Regions from separate parts of the Homo sapiens genome. Here all the other regions are linked to region 5. Evidence: promoter capture Hi-C in 16 types of primary human blood cells and fetal thymus (Javierre and others, 2016). All regions are on one chromosome and are shown on one strand. Each heading gives the region's core, a stretch centred on a gene start or on the middle of the fragment in contact. The rest is flanking DNA. Distances are from core to core; before and after follow the strand shown. Region 1 holds the start of PSMD6-AS1 (PSMD6 antisense RNA 1). Region 2 has its middle 4.4 kb from the start of EDEM1. Region 3 overlaps TRNT1 (tRNA nucleotidyl transferase 1). Region 4 holds the start of ITPR1 (inositol 1,4,5-trisphosphate receptor type 1). Region 5 holds the start of OXSM (3-oxoacyl-ACP synthase, mitochondrial). Region 6 has its middle 9.2 kb from the start of PSMD6.

Region 1 (3,829 bases), core at 756-3,255, about 38 Mb after region 5:
ACTTATTCCTATCTGACACACTGAATAAAACTGATAAAACTAATAAACTGTTTCAAACAAACAGAGGAACAACTTTGTTTTCCTCACTGCTATTATTACTATGGTCCTACTTTTGGAAAAAAGATTCAGTTTGCTAATAAATACTTACATATAAGGTTTTAGAAAACTGAGATCAGCCTTGGTAGATTCTGTAATCCAGGTTATGTCAGCTTCCTAAAAAAGAGTAACTTCCTGCCTTATATGGTTACTTGTTTCTGAGGGAAAGCTTATTACACATTTTCTTTATCTTCTATCTTTTGTATACTAAAAGTGGGAGACACTGTTTGTTTAATTTTAGGCCACTACTCTTCTTTCTAAAATCGGGAAGCTTACAGGTAAGAGATTTAAAGGTAAGCGATAATGGGCTGTGTCAACATCCGTATTTTACTGACGTATTTTACTGATGAGGCAGTCAGGAGCTGAACCTAGCTGAACCCAGCTGCAACCTTACCCTATAAACCAGATTTTCATTAATGAATAATTCAAGTGACATTATTTTAACATAAGTGGACCCGATTCTAGAAGGCCTATGTGTTTAAGAAAAAAATAAATGGAAAGAAACAACAATGCAGTATTTATTTTATACAGCTGACCTGGGCACATTGTGAAGTAAGCTATAAAAATTCCAAATAATTATCTCTAAAGCAAATCCTTTGTTAGTTACATGGCTTTACATATTAATTACTCTGGAAAGTTTTTGAACTCTGTTTAGTAGCAGATCTCCTTTCTTGATAGTTTCTTGGTACTGCCAGTTCTTGCTATCAGGTCTATAAATAAATTCAAGAAAAAATGAATTATTTACCAGTCACATTATTCCATGACAATAGTTGACCTACTTTTAAAATTTAGGAATGCCCCTTATTCTGAGAAATGAGAGTACCTGTTGGTTTCTACTATTTCATTCACTTTATCTATTTTGCAGTGTAGTCTCCCGGCAGCAATAAACCTGGACAGTTCCCTAATTTAGAGACAAAAAATAACAGAATTAGCTTTATAGAAAATTCTTAGAAAAATGCAAACGGCATTAAAATACTGTCTTAAATTTGTAACAAACATTTAGCTTCCCTTCAAGCTTGTTATTGCACATGCAGTAGTTGACGTTGTCCCTCCTATACTGCAGGCTTTAAGTCATCATCTACTAGAATAAACATGATCCTAGAAGTTCATATTCAGATAGATAGAAAGTAGATCAAACAATGAAACCATATGTACTCAGAGAAAAACTGTAGGTTAGGAAAAATTAGGGACCAAAACTGATAAAAACAGTAAACTGTTTCAAACAAAAGACCTAAAACAAAATTATGGAACACAGCCCATCAGTAAACATGTCAACAGCAATAGTATTAACATGTCAACAGCAATAGTATTTACTAAAACAACGACCCTTTCCCTCTCTAACATATCTTAGTCTAAACAAGTGGAAGGGAAGGGGAGAAATGATGTAGAATTATTGCTTTGCCCATTTTAAAAAAGGGGATTTCATCTAAAATGTAACTTTTTAAGGGAGAAAAAAAGAATAAAGAATCCATGACAACCCAGATTTGAAATTCTTAGGTATCACAGAAATTTAAAACAAGGCCTTTTTAGGTAACAACAACTAGAGCTCAGTGGTACAACCTTTGCCTCTCAAGCTGGTCTTAGAACATGAAGGGAAAAAAAAAAAACTGAACAAATACTACCTGAATTCAACTACTACCTGAAAGGTACCAGCTGCCTTGCATTCACTTGTCATCAAGATGACTTAAGGAATACTGCGGTGTGTGCCCCTAACTAATGAAGGCTTTATCTCCACATTACAGTTACGATACTGAAGAGACGTAACCTGACCAAGGCCACAGAGCTGGAAAAAGAAGCAAAGCCAAGCCGTTTTTCTCATGCACTGCTCACAACAAGCCCCTCCTTCCACTGACTCATGAAAAACACACTCATAATGCCCAGCCCGCACCCTAATGAACAGCCCTCTTAAGAGTGGTCATCAGACTTCAATTTCACAGACTAGAATTGAGAAATGGAACAAAACCTTGGGATACCAGCCTTCCATTTTGGTAGGGATCATTTAAAAAATGGTAGGGATCATTTAAAAAATGTGTTGGTGTCTGAAACTTACTTTGAAGTGGTTAAAAAACATAAAATGTATAGATTGTAACAAGCAAATATGTTAAAATGTACTGTACAATTCTTTCTTTACAATTTTATGGATGTTCGAAATTTAAAAAATACTAGAAAGAGAATGGTCTTATTTAAAAGAAATGCATCTTCATTTAAAGTTTCCACTGCAGACCATTGAAAACACCATCATCAACATTTAAAAACACCTACATGTGGGAGCCACTGATCTAGATGCCATCTGGACATCCCATATTGAGTATGTCTCCTACCCAACTCTACTCTCACCACCCTCGTCCACGCCACGGTAACATCTCCTCTAAGAGCTACTAAACAGCACAACTGGTCCTCTCTGCCACCTTACTCTATTTCTTATATAAAGACACTGCATAGGACCATGTAACTTGGGCTCTAAATCTTCCAATGGCTCCCTATCAAACTTACTTAAAACTCAAGCTCCATCCCATGACCTACAAGGCCCTACACAAATCATTACCTACCTAACTCTCCATATATTATCCTCAAAATCTCCTACCACTCCAACTATGCTGGAGCCACCCTGACATTTTCTGTTCCTACAACATCCAAGCTTATTCCTGGCTCAAAGCCTTAGCCTTTTCTATTCCCTTTTCTGCACGCAGAAGGACTCCATATGGCTGACTCCTCTCAATTCAAATCTCAGAGCAAACCTCACCTCCTTAAGCATGCCGTACGTAAGGATAGCATTTTCTCATCTCCATAGGTTCATTTCTATATGTGAAATTACGTTTTATATTTATTTGCTTCCTTGCCATCTCTTCCCTACTACTACAATGAAAGTGTGAAAAGGGAGCTGTAAAACAATACCAAACATATAGTAATGAATGGCTCATTAAGTATTTATTTGTTTAATCACTGATGCAAGTACTAAAAGTCCCACATTTAACAACCAATCTGACCAGAATTGCAGCAGCAACCTAAAAACTGGAAGGAATTATCAGAGGGAATATGACCAACTGTAAATATCAGATCTAAGAGTCATTACCGTAGCTGCAGTGTGGTCTACAAAGAAGTAACAGAAGACAACTTTTGATAACAACTGGTCTAATGACCTTTAACAAATCACTTAGCCTCACTACAACTCATCTTCCCATCTGTTAATGCAAGGGGCAGACATGACATGAGGAAGGCAGAGGCAACAGGATACGAATGTTTTGATAATACTGAGGAAAAAAACCTCTCCCCTCCCCGTTAAGATTGAGGGAACCAATGTAAACAAGTAAAAAATTGTACAAGTTCACATATTTTAAAAGGCAACTTTAAAACTTCAATTAACATGGCATTATTCAAACTTACTGATCAATGAATTCCACACCAACACCAAACGCTTCTGCCATATAGCCAAGGGTTAATGACCTATATGATTCCAGCAGCTGACTGTATGCATGAATTCTCATTTCTCTTACATAGTATCGATAATGAGGGGCAAAAAGCCAGTCCTTTTTCATTTCCTGTTCCACAACCGCTGCAATGAATAAAATGACAAATTATAATAGACTCTCCGTTTCAGATAAAAAGATTAAAAACTAAAGCAACACTACTAGTTGAGTCCAACAGATAGATGAACAAGTATCAAATTTCTCACTGCCCTTCCACATCATGTCATCAACAATGGCAGCAACAGCAGTGATAAAGGAGGGGCCAG
Region 2 (3,973 bases), core at 1,209-3,708, about 21 Mb before region 5:
CCAACCCTTAGTGGCCAGTTGGATGCATGATTTCGCGTTTATTTCCCTGGAACGTCACGTTGATGTGTTTTTGTCTTTTCACTGCATTACTGGAGCCATGTAGTCAAGCATCAAGTTTCATCCACTTCTCACCATTCTCCTACCAAGGGGGTGAGTGTGTGAGAGTTGAGGGTGAGGATGGGGGAACACGGAGGATATACATTTAGCTTAATTCTAAATGTGTATCTGCTTTTAAAAACTTCTAAACTTATAAAGTTGGTCTTTGATTCTGTCAAGTAAATTGGGTGTTTGAGGAACTAACTGCTTTGTCTGTTTGCTCCATGTAGGATTGAGTTACACTGATACCCTGTTGATTTGGTAATTCCAGCTGCTCCAAGGGTCTGGTGGGTTCAGAACTGGAATGGAAGCTTAAACATAATGTAGTGGGCATCATGCTGTAACATCCAGTTGGCCAAATGCTTTACTCTAAAAATGTGCCACAGTGGGGAAAGCACGATGTTTGATGTTTAAAATGTTTTTGTTATGTTACAGACTTTTAAGGTTATGCCCTCAACTGTGCATAGCAGTGAAGAGACTTGAAAAGGAAGACAGTAAAGCCTTACAGACTTCCCTTAAGTTTGCTGCTCTATAAGTATGCAGCCTGCTGCAGGTGTTTCCTGTTGGTTAGTAAATAACCTCCACACATTGGCTGTTTAAAATTCAGCTATTAATAAAAATGTGTACTTTTGTCATTGCTCCTCTTGGGTGTTCTTAGGGAAACCAAAGCAGGTCATTGTCATGGTAGACAGACTGCAATAGGACTCTCTTAAAAATCTAAGCCACAGCAGTAGTCATTTATTATTCCATTCTATTAACCAGCCCTCTCTTCAGTAAGATAATTCTATTTTGAAATCCCAAGGCATCTGGCATTTAGGTAATGCAGATTTCCCAATAATCAGGAGGGGGAAAAGATACTTTAGCTTCATTTTACTGGGGCTTACAGTAGGGATGTAGGAAAAGAGTTGTTAGCTTACGATGCTAATATAGCTTAATTCTGTGGAGAGTACTGGGTTGGCATTTGGGAGAATGGGTTCTTTCCTTGGCCATTAACTGACTGTGTGACTGGTGAGTTGCAGAACCCCCTCATGGCTCCTTAAGTTTTCCCATCTATAAAATGAACAGGAGAGGATTTCTAACCATAACTTCTGCCACTGACAGGCTGATTCTAGCAGCCTAGAAATTTGCTTGGTGGTTAAAAAGAGATACAAAAACACCGATTTGGCCTAGTGAATATGTTAATATTACATGTTCCTTCAATAGAAGGTAATTCAAAAATACAGAAATATTTACATGTTACAACTTTAAATTTTAGCACAAAAGCTGGAGATTGCAGACATTTTACAGAATGATACAGTAAATTTATTTTGTTTGAAGGAAATTCTGTAAATATACCGGCTTATATTTTGAAAGGCATTTACAAATTTTAGAACATTTTCCCCAGACTGCAGAAAATGTTTGGTATGCACTCCAGAAAAGTGTATATACCTACTACCAATTTGAGGGTAGGTGGTTTAGAGCTAAGGTTTAATCCTTTATAACTGCTGTGTTGCTGGGTTTTTGGGGGTTTTTTTGTTTGTTTGTTTTGAGATGGAGTCTCACTCTGTTGCCCAGGCTGGAGTGCAGTGGCGCCATCTCAGCTCACTGCAAGCTCCGCCTCTCGGGTTCCCGCCATTCTCCTGCCTCAGCCTCCCGAGTAGCTGGGACTGTAGGCGCCCGCCGCCACGCCTGGCTAATTTTTTAATATTTTTAGTAGGGACGGGGTTTCACCATGGTCTCGATCTCCTGACCTTGTGATCCGCCCACCTCAGCTTCCCAGAGTGCTGGGATTACAGGTATGAGCCACCATGCCCGGCCAGCTAGGTTCTGCTAGAATTTATCCAGAGCTTTGGAGAAACCTGGAATGGTTAGAAAATACTACTCTTAAAAGTAAAGGGGCTGGAGGACCAACAAAACCATTGTATCCCCTTTTGGACTTGGGAAGTAGAACATTAACCACTTGCTAATTATAGCATCTCCCTTAACCAATTCTTATCTACAATTGTGACTTACCCTCAGTGTTGTACAATGTGTATCACACAATGTGCTAGCTTGTTTCTGTGGCTTAAGAGAATTCACCATTTCTATCTACTACCCAATAGGTGAATTAGATAACTCTTCCATTTGTATATTTTATTCTGTAAGAAAAATTCAAATTGCTCTTATTTGTCATACTATTAGCTAATTTATAAGCGCTAGCCCTCATTCAAAGAAGGGTTAAGGATTTATAGAATTCCTATATTCTCTGGAAGCATCAGTAACCTAAAGGCTAGAGCATGGTATGGGCATGTGCATGATGAATATTTTTGATGTATAGTTCATATATTTGTTTCAGTGGTTTGGTGTTAGAACTGCTAGAAGGGAATCTCACTATCTTTTCTTCCTTTTTGAGATAGTCTTGCTCTGTCATCAGGCTGGAGTTCAGTGGCGCAATCTCGACTCACTGCAACGTCCGCCTCCTGGGTTCAAGCAATTCTCCTACCTCAGCCTCCCAAGTAGCTGGGACTACGGGCATGTGCCACTATGCCAAGCTGATTTTTGTAGTTTTAGTGCAGATGGGGTTTCACCATGTTGGCCAGGCTAGTCTTGAACTCTGACCTCAAGTGATCCACCCGCCTCAGCCTCCCAAAGTGCTGGGATTACCGGCGTGAGCCACCGCGCCTGGCGACTTGTGCTAACGTTAAACCAAAATTATGGGGGGTCATTGTTTGTGGACTGAGTTTCTGCACTAGGTCCTAGCAGACCAAAGTAGTTACATATATTAAGTGCCACACAGTTACATGGAAACTTTACAGACCAGTTTTTCCTGAAAACAGAAAATCCCAGTCTGTCTGAATCAGAATAATAAGGAAGTCCCTTCTTCTTTAACCCTTAAAAAAAAAGTAACCCGATGTTAACCAATCAGTTATTTTTCATTGTTTTGTTTCCTTGCTCTCATCTTACAAAACCCACTATTCTGCTGTTTCTCATTGGGAGCTTTCATTCTGTTTTGTAGAATGGAGGCTGCCCCATTCATAAGTTATGAATAAACGCCAGTTAGATCTGTAAGTAAATTTGTTGTAATTTTTTTCTGACACTAGGAATTGCCAAATGACCCTTCACACGGGAAGTACTAGTTTTTGTTTTTACCAGTCCCAGTCCCCTATGCCTTTTTAAAAAAGAGATGAAGTCTCACTGTTACCCAGGTAATTGCATTGGCTATTTACAGCCACGATCATAGGAAACGCAGCTTCAAACTACTGGCTCAGGGGATCTTCCTGCCTCAGCCTCTCGAGTATCCTGTATCTTGCTAACAGAGCATGTTGACAAACTTGGATTTGTGCCCATCAAATAAGTTTGAACTGTAATTATATACTTTTTTTTAGGCCTTCAGCTTTGCAAAACCTCTGCTTTTGAAATACTTTTTTTTTTTTGAGACGCAGTCTCACTCTCTTGCCCAGAATGGAGTGTGGTGGCGCTATCTCAGCTCACTGCAACCTCTGCCTCCTGGATTCAAGTGATTCTCGTGCCTCAGCCTCCTGAGTATCTGGGATTACAGACGCCCACCACCACGCCCGGGTAGTTGTATTTTTAGTAGAGATGGGGTTTCATCATTTTGGCCAGGTTGGTCTTGAACTCCGGACCTTAAGTGATCTGCCTGCCTTGGCCTCCCAAAGTTCTGGGATTACAGGTGTGAGCCACCACGCCCAGCCGGGTGCTAGTTTTAAAAGTTTCAGAGTTGAAAAGTATTAATAGGTCTCACTATGTAGCACGGTTGTAAGTACTTTATATATATATATGATGTAATCACAACTGTGATAAACATTGTCCTCATCACTCACCCATTTTATGGATGAGGAAACAAGTCCTAGAAAAGTAACTTCCCAAGGTCACTCTTAGGGCAGAGCTACGATTTGAA
Region 3 (4,112 bases), core at 1,309-3,808, about 23 Mb before region 5:
CTCTCAAAAAAAAAAAAATGAGAGACTATTTTTCTGTCCTAGAGATGAGGCTGAAGTTCCCAATGCAGACGATTTTTGCCTGAGCTAACAGCATTAATGGATGAGCAAGGACTTGTTTAGTCCTTTGGCTGTTGTCCACAGGGGGTGATAGCGCTCAGTGTTATGTGACGTCAGAAGGCCATCATGTTAAAATATAGCACGATAGGGACAACTGATCACTCTCTTGAAGTCCGGAGCTCTTAGAACAGATGGTCTGTTTTTCTGTAGTAATGCTCACACCATGTCTTCCCACTCATAGCTCCCACTCACTGCCCCTTACCCCACCCCAGCCTCCAGTCGTCAAAATTTAAAGCTGTAAAGGGAAGACGTTCATGAAAATTTAATTAAAAGTTAACATTAAAAAGAGGTGACAGTTATAAAAGTTTTCTGACACATTAATGTATGGTCTTTTGAATTGCTAATAATAATTAACAATTGCTTACTATCAGAGGTGGCATTTGGAGCAAATAAACGTAGTTTGGGGATGATGAGATTCTGCATTCTTTGACTTTTAGGCTTAAGTTTACAGTTAAATTTAGTTACATTAGGTGTTATTTTCACTGAATTATTTCATTGAATGTAGCTCGCAAAGTCTTTTGAAATGTTGACTGCCTCCCTGTTTCTGTAAGATTGAAGATATCAGTAACAGGAATAAATAAATCTTGAAGCTTGATAGTCCCTGCTGTTTTAGGCCAATGTGAAATTATGCTTTTCTTATAATTTTTATGACTGCTCTTTCATATAGACAAATATGCCTTGATACGTCTTTCTCAGTTGTCTTAAATGTTATTTTAAAAATCCTGAATGGCAAGGTTTTTGGAATGGTTTAATAACATAGGCTAATCAAAATGGTGAATATATTACTTTGAGTTCTGGATCTCTTTGTAATGCAGTTAGCTTACTGAGTAAATTTGAACTTATCGTTTTATTTTAGTAAAGCCAGCATGAGAATCTTAAAACAGTAGTTATCTGTATAAATTAAGCCTTGACCTTCTTCATCCCACTGTTTATAGTAAGTTCAAGTGAACGTAAAACTTGTCCTTTATTTGCTTGAATTTCAGAACAGCTACTTGATACCGTTTTAAGAAAACTTAAAAAAACCCAATACTTACCAGTGAAGTCATTCTTTTTTTTAATAGTTAGAATATCATAATTCAGTTTAATTATGAGCCAGATTGGTATAAAGATGAATAAGATAGGTTTTCTACCCTGAGAAGTGGGGAGACAAAGACATAAAACAGGTAATTTTAATATAATTGGTATGTATAAAGATATGCTGTACTAGTCGCTTAGAAGAAATTCACCTAACCTTACCTTCAGGTGAGGCTTCCTAAAGTGAGTCACAACAGATAAGTAAGAGTGAGCTAGATCATTGTTTTCCAACTGGGTAGTTACCTCTTAGTGGGCCATGAAGTCAATTTAGTGGTCATGACCAGTAATTAAAAAAAAGAGAGAATAGAATAGATTGCATGGTACGAAGGGTAGGTTTTCTTTTATGATACTTTTGTTTGCCATGTAGACATACAAATTTTGGTGACTGCTATGTGAATGTCTTAGTGTGGGTTATGGGCTAAGAAGTGTGACAGCCAGCCACTGAGCTGGAGTAAGTTGGGGAGGTGTTTCAGTGAAGTGACTCACACAAGCAAAATTATGGAGGAAAACTGTGGGGAGAGTTTTGTGCAGACAGCTGGTACAGACAGTGTGATGCAGAGTTTAGCAAGAGATGAGACAAATAGGTCATGGAAGCCTTTGGATATAGCACTGAGGAATTTGGGTACTGTGTTGTGAGTAGTTAGGAGGAGCAGTTAATGCGTAGCGTAATTAACCTAGTGTTTTAAATCCCTATGTCTAGATGGTGGAGGCTGGATTTAAGGGAGGTGATGTGGTCCCAGAAGTGGGCTTTCATGGGAAATGTGGCATTAGGGGAATATGAACACTTCCCCTTGGGGAGAGCTTGTGGAAAAGATATCCTTAATTAAGTCAAGAGGGTAGGGAGCATTTGTTACTTTTAAGTACATCATTTTAAGGAGTCTACAGAGAATGGGGCTGAAAAGATGTGGGAAGAGTAGGTGGAAGAGGAGTGTGGGCAGGACAGAAAACAGATGTTGAGGTAGGGATAGAGGATTCTGTTTTGAGTTGTGATTAGAGGTGCTGGAACTTTGATGTATGATGAGTTTAGTTGAATGCTCGTGTTGCTGTCTGCTAGCCAAAGACCAACAGGGACACAAGTTGGGTTGTTACTCCTGGCAGTGAGGAGCAACATGCTGAGTGAGGAGTAGCATGCTGACACTGGAGAACCTGGAGGTATACTCAGTAAGAGGGCTTTAGAAATGACTTCTTATAGGAGTTGGGCTTGTATTGGGTCATTTTGGAGAGCATTTAAGGTAGTAGAGCTTTGCAGCGGGTTAGATGCTCTCAGGAAGCAGAAGTAATTCTGTGATTGGGTGTCTTAATAATGGTTTCCTAGAAGTTGAGTACAGTTGTGAGACTAAACCTAATTGGTAAGGCACAGTCACTGTTACCAACTATTGTAGGGTGTATCATGGACAGTGTTCATGTTTCGTGTATGTTTAGGTGATTACAGAGTTGTCTTGATCGATCCATCGTGGTCACAGAATGGGCTTGTCTGATATTGATGTTTTGTGAAAATGTTTCTGTACCACAGACCCCAGGGCCTAATATTGTGGCAGGCTAGCTCCTGGATGCCATTCTCACTAGGTTCCATGTGGACATATGGATATAGTTATAGTGGATTTTGCCTTATCCTCTACATATAGAGGAGTCAGCTATGTAGTTGCTTATAGTTGTTCAGTGTTCAAATGGTTCTACCTAGAGCACAGATAGGAGTTGATTTTAGAATTATATACAGACCATTTCTTGAAGATTTTTAGCTATAAACATTAATCATAAGTGGTATAGACTAATGTCTGATAGTTTCATGCGTGAACATCCTGCCTCAACATCTATCTGTAAACACAGAGAAATACAAGAACATGTTACCATTTCTAAAGTATGCACATAAATGGGGAAAAGAAAGCAGAATTGTTTGATTTACTTTCTTTTTTTTTCTTTTTTTTTTTTTTGAGATAAGGTCTTGCTCTGTCACCCAGGCTGGAGTGCAGTGGCACGATCATAGCTCACCGCAGCCTTGAACTCCTGGGCTCAAGCCATCCTCCCACCTCAGCCTCCCAAGTAGCTGGGACTACAGGTGTGCGCCACTGAACCTGGCTATTTTTATTTTTTGTATAGATAGAGTCTTGCTCTTTGCCCAGGCTGGTCTTGAACTCCTGGGCTCAAGTGATCTTTTCACCTCAGCCTCCCAAAGTATCAGGATTACAGATGTGAGCCACTGCGCCTGACCTGCTTTAGTCTTTAGTAATACTTCAAATTTATATTGATCACTTTGAGGCATTGTGGAATTCTGAATTATCTTCTGAATAAGCAAAGAATTCTGCAAGTTCTCTGTTTCCTGTTGGTCCTCAGAGGCACTCTCCTGTAGACAAGTCTTTTTACTTCTTTGGGCCTTGTTCTCATTTTTCATATGAAAAGCCTCAGTTAAATGAATCTCTGCTGTTCCAACTAGATGGAAAAGCCTTGTACTTTTGTGGTTAAAATAAACACATTGAAATAAAGAACTTGGGAATAAAAATCTTATTTTCTCTCATCTCAGAATTATTTGTCAAAGAGAATCACGAATTAAGAATAGCAGGAGGAGCAGTGAGGGATTTATTAAATGGAGTAAAGCCTCAGGATATAGATTTTGCCACCACTGCTACCCCTACTCAAATGAAGGAGATGTTTCAGTCGGCTGGGATTCGGATGATAAACAACAGAGGAGAAAAGCACGGAACAATTACTGCCAGGGTGAGTCAAAAGTTTGACAGGTAATTACATTGCTTTTTTGGTAATTTTTAAAAACTTAATTTTCTCTAGTTAAAAGCAAATAACGAAAAGTCTAATAAAAAAGTCAGTCTCTTCTATGCCCGTCATAAACCCTGCAGTCCTCTGTTCTTGCAGCCATGTTTACTTTTTATGTTACCTCTCCATTTCTAAAAAGACCTTTGTATGCTACG
Region 4 (3,889 bases), core at 320-2,819, about 21 Mb before region 5:
TTTCATGAGACTCGATTTTATATTAAGGAATCCTGCTAAAAAGTAGACATATTCTAATAAGAATTTCCTTCAGATGGCAAAACTGGGGCAAAGAGATGAAAATGACTTGCCCAAGGGCTCAGAGGCTGCTCCTAAATGGGGAGAGAGGCTATTTAAGGCAATGGCGGTGGATTTCCCCAAAGACAAGGGTTTCATACACGTAGAGTCTGGAACGGGAGTCCAGGCTGTACCACTTAACTCGAGGGGTCATTTGGGAAGTTACCTGATTTCTCTGAGCCCTGGATTGTGCACCTGCCAAATAGATATAATAAATATACCTACAGTTGGTAAAACTCAATAGCATGACGCATGAAAACTGCATGTGGTCTGGGCTCAATAAAATCAGCCTCCCCATTGATTATTATCATTATTATTACTATTGTTATAACAGATCTTTAGGCGGCGTCAGGAAGTGCCTGTCTGGGATGCTATAATGCGTTTGGCTCACCACTATGCCCCAGCGCCTGGCACCTAGTAAACACTCAGGAAACGTTTGAGGAATGAATATACGTCATTTGAGGCAAGACAGGGCAGTCGGCTGACTGCCTCCGGGCTTAGCTCTTCCCCTCCTTGCAAAAGCCGGAGCCCTAAGCAGCGTGTAGCCCGGGAGCCCAGGCATTACTTGGCAGCGGGTGAAACCCACCTTGCCCCATTCGGAGCTCTTGGAGAGCGCCCCGCCTGGATGCGCATCTCTGTGTGAGCGGCTCTTTCCTAAGCCCTTATTTTTCTGGTTTGCGGTTTATTTACTTAAGCATTTACAGCTCCCAGGAGCAGAGGGGCTGCTAGAGGTACGGTCAGGACTGAGGTCGCGGTTTGTATTTATTTTCTGCCTCCCAATCTCAGAGCCGGCAAGTCACAACACGGCTCCTTTATTTGTGCACCGGAGAGGTCTGCCTTTCTTTACCTCCTCACGGGCGATAAAAGACAAGCAACTCGGGCTCAGAAAAGTGCTCTCACGCGACTTGCCTGTGTCTCCGCTTGCGTGGACCGTCGCTCCCAGGCTTGGTTTCTCGTGCAAACCCGAGCAGGGCGGAGCAGATTAAATAAAGACACCTCGCGCCTTTAATCCTTGACCGCAAACACTGGCGTTTTTGTGCCCCGGATTTCTGAAATTCTTGGCTCGGGGAACCAAGGCAGGGGGAGGGTGGGCTTGTAAAAACTTCCCAAAGCAGAAATCCGAGCTCCTAGCCCCTCCCCGGCCCCAGTGACACCTGGATTCCAGGGAAGGGGGGCAGCCGGAGGAGAGGCGTCCCCAAGGGTTGCGGGCGCTTCCCAGGGGTGACTTTGAACGGCTGGCTCCAAGCCCTACCGACCCCAGCCAAGGAACAGGCTCAGCAGCCTGAAAGCCTCGCAGGACGCCCCTCCCCTGTCCCCGCACGCGTCTATTTAGGGCCCAGCCCGGGCGCCCAGGGGATTCTGGGACTTGTAGTCCCTCCCCGCAGCCTCAGGCGCCGCCACGACCCGCTACTTGGACTACATTGCCCAGGGAGCTTCCCGGCCTATATAAGCCACCCGGAGCCGCTTTAAAGTGCAGTAACCATGTGGATGTGCTGCTGAAGCGTTTCCTCAAGCTCGCTGGGGTGGGAGGAGAGGAGGAGGAGGAGGTGGTGGTGGAGGAGGAGGCAGGGGGTGGAGAGAGAGAAAGCGCACGCCGAGAGGAGGTGTGGGTGTTCCGCTTCCATCCTAACGGAACGAGCTCCCTCTTCGCGGACATGGGATTACCCAGCGGCTGCTAACCCCTCTCCTCGCCCTGCTCCCCCAAACCGGCGTGGCTCCCCGGGCACCAAGGTAGCGGCTGGGGCCGGGCAGAGGGCGCGGGGAGTTGGCACTGGCTCCCCGGGCGCAGAAGTTTTTGCCCCGCTCTCGGGGAGATCTTGATGGATGTGCATGCACTTGGCATGCATTTGGGGGTTCCTTTACTGCGGGCAGTTGTTTTGGGGGGAGCTCATTTGAAGCTTAAAAAACAAATATCCTCTACTCTAGTGCGTGGCTTTGGGGGCTCCCCATTCTGGTCTGATGTGGCATTCCCCCAAGTTGGAAACTGTTGCTGCAGCTGCAGGAAATAGTTCTTTTTTTTTTTTTTTTTTTGAAGAGAGGTTGTGGGGGTGTCATATGTGAGTCTGCTCAAGGAAATAATCTTTCTAAAAATGTATCCCTCTCTTGCGCTCCGTGGTTGGGAGAATAATGCATGTGTAGGGGCCCCCCGTGGGGAGGGTTTTTAAAAACGGAAGAAAACCGGAGAAGCGGTGAGGGATGAAGTGTGGACGAAGCTCATGTCCAATGAGGATGCGGGCTTCGGATACTTGGCCTTCTCGCCGGGAAACAAGTGCTTTGGGATCTGCCAAACACTTCCCTTAGTTCCAGCCTCCCGCACGTTCGAAGTTTGTGCGTGCCTAGTCTCAATTGTCAGTTACATCCTGGAAATAAGTAAGCGTAGTTACCTGGAATCTTCGCCCAAGCGATCCCACCAACCTGCCTACCAAGTTTGGGGGCGGGGGGGCTGTCCCCAGTGAAGGAGGCTAAAGAAGGTGGAAACTTGTAATTTGGAGCATTTCTGTTAGAGCTCATCTTCCGCGGTCTGGTACTCAGTCTTCTTTCTTTCTAAATATTTAGGAGCTGACTACAGAGGAGCAGGATTTGCACCCCTCGCTGGGCTTGCTTTGGCAACAGAGTGCCTGACCCAGGTCAGGTGAGTGTGGAAGCCTGAGTGCTGTAGTCAATAATGAGTTTTTGTCCTAAGCCTATTTTAAGTTCTATCTAAACCGCCAAGGAGGTGGGGAGTAAGAAAGAAAAAGAAACTCCGTGGCTCAGTCTTCAAAATTTGCCTCTGCCTTTGGTGAGGGCTTTTGGGAGCAGAGGTCCAGTGGACAGTCCGTTTCTTGGAAGTAGCTGAGAATTGAAGGAGCCTGAAAGTTTATGAGAGAGGAGGGGAAAAGGCCATTAAATGGAGCAATAAAACGGCGGCCCATTGCCGGTCTGAAAAGCATGCTGATGATTTAAATTCTGAAGGATACAGTGCATTTCATATGCCAAAATGTGTAAGCAGTATTAACTGCCTCTCTCCTTCAAGAAATAGTCACTCTTTTCTAATTTTGAACGTGTGCTTAATCAGAGTAGGTTGGATTGCAAGAAATGAAAGTGGTTGCTGCAAGTTGAAAGAATTAGAACTTTAAAAAGGGAAGTGAGTTATTGAAGCTTAAGGTGGTAGCATCCAGCCCTTGACTCAAGCCACCTGAGTGTCAAGGAATCTGGCAGGTCCCTGTTGTTTTGGGGCCCGTGGTGGAATATGAGCTGAGAGCAGCATTTATCTGTAAACACAACAGTTCCTATTTTTTCCCCAAAATGGTCAGACTGCATTTGAAGAGTGGGAGGTTTCAACGGGTGCACGTACATCACTATTGCTGCAGATTTGGCTATCAGGAGTTTTTTCTCCTGAAATGTTCAGGAACATGGTAAATAACAGGGTAACAGAGGTAGGTGGGGGTGGGTGGCTGGGTCTTAATAACTTTTTTAACATTCTAAATATTTAGCTGTTCCCTGGGCTACAATCTTTGGGCTTTTCTAATGAGAAAATAAAAGTCAGACACTTCATTATAGTGGTATAGTGCTTTTGTTTCCTGTTGATAAGATCCTCAGGAGTACTGGCGGAGTGAGAAGCATTTGGATGTGAGAACTCTAGTTTCTTCTTGGAGTTCTGTTGACTCACATGGCTGTGTGGGTGCTCATAGAGCCAAGGATTAGGCCCAGTTCCCCTTTTCAGAATTAGCTGTACAGCAAGGAAAAACTGGTCCACAGACTCTTTTCTAACTGGTTGCTAAAAATAATAAGATGGACACATTAAGTACTTGTA
Region 5 (3,861 bases), core at 1,271-3,770:
AGTGGCTTTGTTCAAGACAAAGAGGAGTAAGAGAGACTCCAGTGAAGGGAATGAGAGAGTTTACCATGTCCTTTCTAGAGGAGTTTAGAATCAATAAAAGAATGTTGCACTCCAAATTATACCATGAAGGCTAGCATATGGTCTCTGAACTACGGGATTAAATCCAAAGTCCTCAGTATGATACCCCAGGCTTTTGTGATCTGGGCCCTGCCTTACTCTCATGCGTTTACTGTTGCTTTGTCCCACACTTCAAATTTGACATGGGCCACATATTTAGCTGTTTGTGGAAGATACCATGACACTTCATTTCTCCAGGCCTTTGTTCTCCTCCTGCCAGGATGCCCTTTCCCACCCAATTTACTAGACAAACATTCATTTCCAAGATGCAGTTCAAGGATCATTTCTCTGAAGCCTTTTCTGACTTTACGAGGTAGCACAGACCTCATTGTCCCTTTTGTGTTATAATAATTCCACTATAGCACCTGTTTCAACAGTTTGCACTTACTTGTTTCTATGGGTGTCTCCCTTTACTAGACCATAAACTTCTTGAAAGCAAGAGCCATACCTCTACTCATTTTTGCATTCAAACTTCAAGCATTGATAGGAAGAAAATGAGTGGTTGTTGAAAATAGCAAAAGCACAGAGATGAGAAAAGTTAGGGTCAATCAAGACATGTATAGTGAGAAAATCAGTTTGCTGGGTGGCAAGCTCATTTAATAGAGAATGGGAGCCATAATTGGAAAGATAGTTTTGAATCAGATTACAAAGAATTTAAGGCAAACCTAGGAAGTCTTAATAGGAGGGTAGGATAAGCAGAGCCCATTTGAAGATTTTGGTGCAAGAAGACACGATGGAATTGTAGCAGGAAATATGGTACCAAATATGTAAAGCCATTAAATATCATAAAATTTCCCACCCTTTTCCAGATCAAAGAAAAGGTGATAAGAGGTAGATACAAAAATGATGGTCTTTTTATTTTTCTGAAAGATTTTGTCACCTCTTAGCCAAGACGATTTTGTGATATTACAAAAGAAATAGCACATTAAAACTGTATGTTTCTTATGAGTTCAGCTTCAGAGAAAATATTGTAGGTATTTTCACACTATTATTTTAAAGACAGCAATGAAAAGAGATCAAGTTTAGGTACTTACTCATCAAGTGTTACTTTATAACCACATGTGTTTGTTTTAATTCTTCAAGAAACTCTACTTTGTCACTGAATGAGGATCAACTAGAGGTGACTGGTTAGGCCTGGGACGAAGGTCAAACTGAGCTTTGCTGAATTATTTTAAACAAAATAGATTTCCAAACTCATTTAAATCCAGGACCAACCTGGAAAGCTAAGCTTGACTCACATTCTTCTGTAGGGGTAGGAAAGAATGCAGAGCACTCTACTTGGAAACAATGGCTTCAAGAGGCATTGCCCAGAAAAAACCATAAATATGACTAGAAGGTCCAGATGAAGATTCTATGCTCAACCATTTTTCTAAAGAAGAGCAAGGACAAAACTCACGCCTGGGATAGCATGTGAAAAACAGATGTTCGATGAATACCATCTTGTCGACTTCTTGCTTTTTTACATTTTCATGTTATATTTTCCCTTTATCGGTTTGCAGTCAGCTCTAAGCAAACAGTTAATGAATTTTTCACACTTAGAAACAAATGTCTCCATTGTGACAATGGAGACAATTTTTGAGCACTGTCTCAAATCTGGTGATAATTTTTTTTTAAGTGAAAGGAAGTTTATTAGGAAAGTAAAGGAACAAAGAATGACTACTCCATAGGCAGAACAGCCTGGTGACAACTTTTAAAAAGTAAAAACTTTATTACAAAAACATTTGTTTATTGTAGAAAAGCTTTATTAAATAAAGCTAAGCAAAAATAAGGAGGGAAAGATCACAATCAGTATACATCTTGCAGACCTTTAAAGAATTATTTTTGAAAAAACGGATATATACTGTTTTGTAACTATGTCTCCTAACAAATAGTCGCAACATCTCATTAATAAATATTCACCTGCAGAATTATTTTAAACGGCTGCATGGCATTTGGATGTACCACAAGATACACAACAAATTTCCTGATGTTGGCCATTTTGGTTAATTCCACTTTACTCACAATTACTAATAACGTTGCGAGCTATAGCAATAACTTTGAAACTGCAGAGAATTTCCTTAATTCTTTCTTACAATTCCAGTAGAATACGATGGTGTCCCTTCTCCGACAAAAGGGAATATTTGGGCATTATCACTGCCAAAGAAAAATGCCTTTTTGATGGGTGAAAATGCTACCTCATCGCGTTATTGGCAGGTCCTCGATTATCGGCGAGTCACTGAGGTTCCGAGAGGGGCGTCTCTGCTCACGCAAACAGCTACCCAGCCGCCTCCCACGGTCTGACCTCAGCCAAGGTGACGCGGCTTAAAGTCAACCGGCGGAAAGAGAGTCGAACGGGACGCGTGCGTGGGAAAGCGCATGAGCGTACGTGCGAGCGCGCATGAGCGTACGTGCGTGTGCGCGTGCGCTCGAGAGCGTCATCGCCCCCGACTGTGGAGAAGTGTCCGGGGTAGCCCCGTTACAGGTATCGCTGGCTACCCTCCTCCTTCGCCCCTCCTTTCCTCCTTTACATTCAAATCAAGTCGGGGTTGAATTTCGAGAGGGGAGTCCGAGGACCTGGGGCCTGATTTCTTTTTCTCTCGCCATGCTTCTTCGGGCTGTGTACATGTGTGGTGGTGCCTGAGAGGCGATACAGGGAATGGCTACACTCTTTTACTCCCGCCCCTGGCCTTCGTAGTACCCTTGAAGTGATCCACTAGTCGTAACCCCTCCTTCCACCAATGATTCAATTGGAGAAGTTTAGAGGAGTGGAAAGACTTGTCCCCTTCCCCCATCGCAAGCTTGGTCACAGAGTGTATTGCCAACCCATGTATCCAGACGCTCAGTCTAGGGCTCTTGGCCCTGGGTAGCGTTTTGAAAAGGCTGGTTATCCTTAAGTACTGAAGATTGATAAAGCCCACTTACTTACTTAAAAGAATATGCCCTGAAATGTGTTTTCTGTGCCACTGACACCAGAAATGCTATTTAGAAGAAGTTATCAGTAATCCTGACAAAGGATGCTTCCTGCAGCTCAAATCAGGCTGGAGGTGCCTTTATATTTTTCATTGAATTACTGTTTTGGTGACTCGAATGAATCATCAATTCATTTATTTGTCTTCAAATGTCTGACGGCACTTAAGGTCTAAAAAAGAAGGTAAGTTTAAACAGATAGTTTGATGTTAAGGTATAAATTGAAAGTATGTAACATTTTCCCTGTGTTCATTAGCAGCTCATATCAAGCACCCAAAGGAACACCTTGGATGTTTTTCCTTAGGCCCTTAAGCTATTTAAAAGAATACCTCCTAGGTGTGTTGTGGTCTTTTACAGGAATGTGTTTCTGATCATCTGAATCTTAATCATGTCCAACTGCCTGCAAAATTTCCTGAAAATTACAAGCACTCGTCTTCTATGTTCAAGATTATGCCAACAGTTAAGAAGTAAAAGGAAGTTTTTCGGAACTGTGCCAATATCCAGATTGCATAGGCGAGTTGTCATTACAGGCATTGGCTTAGTGACTCCTCTTGGTGTTGGAACTCACCTGGTTTGGGATCGTCTTATCGGAGGAGAGAGTGGAATTGTTTCACTGGTTGGTGAAGAGTATAAGAGTATCCCTTGCAGTGTTGCTGCTTATGTGCCAAGAGGTAGTGATGAAGGTCAGTTCAATGAACAAAACTTTGTGTCCAAATCAGATATCAAGTCCATGTCTTCTCCCACCATCATGGCCATTGGGGCTGCAGAATTAGCCATGAAGGATTCTGGCTGGCATCC
Region 6 (3,798 bases), core at 720-3,219, about 38 Mb after region 5:
GAACCCATCCCTCTTCTCGTGCTGCGATTTTTGCTTATTCACAGCCCCTTTCCTCGGAAAAGCCCAGAAGTGTTTCAAGTGGTGACCAGCAGAGGGCAGCAGTATCCACCGCTTCCCGCAGAGCACGGCGTGCGGAGGTAGACTGTCTTCCGGTCCCACCCGGAGATGGGGAATTCTAGGCCAGGTGGGTGTGACGACGTGCAGCCCTAGCGAAGGACAGGGGTGCACGACAGAGGCACTGGATGGTAAGCACAGCATTTTCTAAATCTCACAGGAGAAAAATCACTGAAAAAAACCACTGGTGTAAAAGCTGAGTCTGTCCTTTGAACCGCTGCCCTGATTTTAGTTACAAATGAAGCAAAAAATCCTTAAAGATCCATATTCCTAAATTTAGACCTTGACCTCAAAGATCGCCTCGGAAAATATACAAATCATTGTTTCCTTCATTTAGTCAACTATCTATTGATTTGATCCCTACTTCCTGTTCAACTCAGCATCCCTTGTCATGGGCAAAAAAAGTGAATGGACTCAGACCATTGAAACAAATAAACTTAATCTTGGTTAGAAAAATTCCAAGTCAATGAATTTTAAAAAGTGAGTTAGTATCATACCAATTTAAGTGTTTTTTAAATAATGTTTAATAAGCAGGTGAATAATTAGCATTGGCCTAAGAAGGCAGCATTCTTAAATCACAGAAAAGAGGTATTTCAGCTGTGGCTGTATGTCGGACTTTGTGATTCCTTTATTTCTGATTTCCTTAGTAAGTTATTCAACCTTACAGGGAAACTTTTTAAATTTTACGTTGCTCTTTTAAATTAGCCTAAGAATAATAATGGTGCCAAAATCTTGTATAGCACTTGCTATGTGCTAGGTACTTAAGCATTACATATATATTAAGTCATTTAATCAAACAACTGTATCAGATAGATATTATATTAACCCATATTACAGAGGTTCAGAGAGGTTAAGCAATTTGACCAAGGTCACACAGCTAGTTCATGACAGAGTAGGATTTGAACTCAAAAAGTCTGGATTCAGACTCCATGCTTCTAGCCATAATATCGTACTTCTTATTATTAAATATTAGCCACAACATGCTCTCCACGAATAATGGCCTTCCTTATAGAGTCAGTTCCTTCTCCCTCCCTTGAATTCCTACCTTCGAGCATTCTAGATTGATTGATTACCCTGGTCCTCCCTACCTCCCTCCTTTCCTATAAAATGCCATGTCATGTCACATGAACCTTGACATTTAGAAGATAGAATTCTTTTGTTTGATTCAGGTTTTTTTCCTAAAAGAACATCACACTCGATTCTGATCTTTTTTTGGAACGCTTTGTTGATAATTTAAATGACTGTTTTGTGACTTTTTATAGAAGCCTAATTAAAAATGCATAGTTTAAAAATTAATCACCCGAGTCACCCAGACTCAAAACATCTGTCATCCTCCCTCCCTTTTTACCCCGAGGTAATTTTGCCAGGTCCTGTGGCTGCTTCCTCCTGTATATTCCCTAAAATGTCTCCTAAATCTTCTTTCTCATTTCAGTAGTGGCTCCAAGTGCTCCTTACCCCCAGCCTGGGCTTTTATAACAACCTCTCAACTGGTCTCCAGACCCCAATCCATCCCACAAACCACTGCCAGATGAAGCTTCTGAAAGCAATGCTCTAGCCGGGTTGTATTTTTTGCTCTGAAACCTTGCGTGGCTTCGCTTGTCTACGGAATTCAGTACTGAATCGATTAAGAGGTAGTCTTTTCACTGACTTAGTTTTACTGCTCCCTGGTACACAAAAATACTTCCTTCTATAGGTAAATTCATAAAGAAACACACACACAAAAGTAGAACAGAGGATACCAGGGGCTGGGGAAAGGAGAATGAGGAGTTAGTGCTTAATGGGTACAGAGTATCTGTGGGGAGTGATGAGAATGTTTTGGAAAAAGACGGCAGTGATAGTTGCAATTAATCCCTGTGAATTATGCACTTGAAAATGGTAAAAATAAAATTAGCCAGGCATGGTGGCTTGCAACTTTAGTCCTAGCTACACTGGAGGCCAAGGGAGGAGAATGGCTTGAACCCAGAAAGTTGAGACTGCAGTGAGCCATGATTGCACCACTGCCCTCCAGCCTGGGTGACAGAGCAAGACCCTGTCTATAAAAAATAAGAAATAAGAAAATGGTTAAAATGCCACATTTTATGCATTTTTATCATAATAAAAAATTTTTAAAGTATACTTTCTTCTAGTCCAATTAGATCAATTGCTCTTTTCTCTCTGAACACCATTCCCCTGCTTTTTAAGCTTTATACGAGGCAGAAAAATGTGGTCTCTCCTTATTGCTGACAACTATTTCTTGAACCTTGCAAGGCTTCCTGCTTCTTCCTTCTGGTCAGTGAAATATTAGAATAAAAATTTCAGAATGTCTCTGGTGGCTTTTATTGCTTTTCCATCACAAGTTTATAGGAACATTCTTTTCTTTCTTCTCAGTGAGCATAGGCTTCCTAAAAGCACACAGAAATAGCAAGACAAGTCTATTTCATGGACTCTGCTTTCTAATCGGATGGTCTCATGTGGAATATTGTCTCTGGAGAGGTCATAAATGGTTGTCACGCCATGTGTTGTGGAGCCTTATCTTCTCCTTTTCAAAAGCAGGCTGCCTAGTAGGTTTCCTAGACCATGAACAAGCCAAATTTTTGCTTGAAATTTTTAATATTCCTCTTTTTTTATTAATAGAGAACAATGATTCCAACACATTCAGCTTTATTTTAGGAAGAAATAATTTAACGCCTAACCCGTTATTTTTATTTATTTATTTAGAGACAGAGTCTTGCTCTGTGGCCCAGGCTGGAGTGCTGTGGTGCAATCTTGGCTCACTGCAATCTCTGCCTCCTGGGTTCAAGCGATTCTCCTGCCTCAGCCTCCTGAGTAGCAGGGATTACAGGCGCCCGCCACCATGCCTGGCTAATTTTTGCATTTTTAGTAGAGACAGAGTTTCACCTTGTTGGTCTAGAACGCCTGACCTCAAGTGATCCACCCACCTCAGCCTCCCAAAATGCTGGGGTTACAGGTGTGAGCTATGGCGCCCAGACTAATTTAGTGCCTAATCTGTTTAAAATGATGTTATAGTTTTTGTACAGCCACTTTGTTGTCACTGAGAGATCTCTCAATTTGAAGAGCTCACATCTGTAGAGGAAAAATTATAAGCAAGCCTTGCTTAACGAATTACGCTCTAAGGGATGAGGGACATTCTGGGCCCATGGCTACCCAAAAGCAACCCTCTTTATCTCCATGCTCAGTTCTGCCTCTGCATCTCCTGAAGTCTTCCTACTGAGGCCTAAGGGAAGTGAGGTTTAGAGGAGACCTTTAGCTCTCTGGAAGCCCAGGTGGAGAAAACTGGTGGAAGTATTTTTTCCCTATAGGCTGGGGAAGTACCTGGAGATGAGGCTTCAGATAGCCTAGGATGAGGACAAGACAGTGGCAGATGCTGGAAAGAATTTGACCTGCAGTCATCCATGACTCTTATGATGAAAGTTGATGTGAATGGTGCCTCCTGGAATTGTGCGTGGTGACACCTGGTTGACATTGTTTTCCCATCCTTCAAACCACTCCTCTCATCCACAAAAGACATATACATACAGCAAAAAACTCATCAGAGTGGCCTAAGACTTCTCAGTTGCAACACTGACAGCTAAACACAATGGAGTCACATCAAAGAGAGAAGGATCAGCAACCTAGGAATCCCATACCCAGCTAAGATATCTTCCATCTATCAGGCTGAAAGACATTTGAAGATAAGCAAATAGA

The links. Contacts are between HindIII fragments. The CHiCAGO score rates a contact against its expected background, and 5 or more counts as called.
Region 1: a contact is called between the fragment with the promoter of PSMD6-AS1 here and the fragment with the promoter of OXSM in region 5, in 4 of 17 cell types (activated CD4 T cells, naive CD8 T cells, non-activated CD4 T cells and 1 more). The highest score is 18.9, in activated CD4 T cells.
Region 2: a contact is called between a fragment that was not itself captured here and the fragment with the promoter of OXSM in region 5, in 2 of 17 cell types (fetal thymus and naive CD8 T cells). The highest score is 15.3, in fetal thymus.
Region 3: a contact is called between a fragment that was not itself captured here and the fragment with the promoter of OXSM in region 5, in 2 of 17 cell types (total CD8 T cells and activated CD4 T cells). The highest score is 7.3, in total CD8 T cells.
Region 4: a contact is called between the fragment with the promoter of ITPR1 here and the fragment with the promoter of OXSM in region 5, in 1 of 17 cell types (activated CD4 T cells). The highest score is 14.9, in activated CD4 T cells.
Region 6: a contact is called between a fragment that was not itself captured here and the fragment with the promoter of OXSM in region 5, in 1 of 17 cell types (naive CD8 T cells). The highest score is 5.4, in naive CD8 T cells.

Annotation. Positions count from the first base shown.
Region 1 is chr3:64,009,959-64,013,787 of GRCh38, forward strand. It overlaps PSMD6-AS1 (PSMD6 antisense RNA 1), which reads left to right and starts at 2,006. Exons shown (of 2, transcript NR_189168.1): 1 at 2,006-2,084. PSMD6 (proteasome 26S subunit, non-ATPase 6) reads right to left here. Exons shown (of 8, transcript NM_014814.3): 6 at 3,481-3,649; 7 at 920-997; 8 at 593-806. The coding sequence ends at 710. PSMD6-AS2 (PSMD6 antisense RNA 2) reads left to right here. Exons shown (of 3, transcript NR_038286.1): 3 at 1,839-2,285. The HindIII fragment of the contact is 1,623 bases long and covers 1,110-2,732 here.
Region 2 is chr3:5,181,307-5,185,279 of GRCh38, forward strand. No RefSeq gene overlaps it. Among named protein-coding and RNA genes, the nearest start is that of EDEM1, 4.4 kb to the right of the region's middle. RefSeq lists an enhancer at 787-836. The HindIII fragment of the contact is 4,107 bases long and covers 406-3,973 here.
Region 3 is chr3:3,133,551-3,137,662 of GRCh38, forward strand. It overlaps TRNT1 (tRNA nucleotidyl transferase 1), which reads left to right. Exons shown (of 8, transcript NM_182916.3): 3 at 3,710-3,903. Among named protein-coding and RNA genes, the nearest start is that of TRNT1, 8.7 kb to the left of the region's middle. The HindIII fragment of the contact is 3,707 bases long and covers 706-4,112 here.
Region 4 is chr3:4,491,779-4,495,667 of GRCh38, forward strand. It overlaps ITPR1 (inositol 1,4,5-trisphosphate receptor type 1), which reads left to right and starts at 1,570. Exons shown (of 62, transcript NM_001378452.1): 1 at 1,570-1,827; 2 at 2,653-2,728. ITPR1-DT (ITPR1 divergent transcript) reads right to left here and starts at 1,385. Exons shown (of 2, transcript NR_108075.1): 1 at 1,006-1,385. RefSeq lists silencers at 1,639-1,908, 3,207-3,501. The HindIII fragment of the contact is 5,640 bases long and covers 1-1,992 here.
Region 5 is chr3:25,787,570-25,791,430 of GRCh38, forward strand. OXSM (3-oxoacyl-ACP synthase, mitochondrial) reads left to right here and starts at 2,521. Exons shown (of 3, transcript NM_017897.3): 1 at 2,521-2,578; 2 at 3,421-3,861. The coding sequence starts at 3,452. It also overlaps a transcript of NGLY1 not described here. RefSeq lists enhancers at 2,000-2,529, 2,669-2,738, 2,749-2,818 and a silencer at 2,347-2,566. The HindIII fragment of the contact is 1,038 bases long and covers 1,855-2,892 here.
Region 6 is chr3:64,030,753-64,034,550 of GRCh38, forward strand. No RefSeq gene overlaps it. Among named protein-coding and RNA genes, the nearest start is that of PSMD6, 9.2 kb to the left of the region's middle. The HindIII fragment of the contact is 647 bases long and covers 1,647-2,293 here.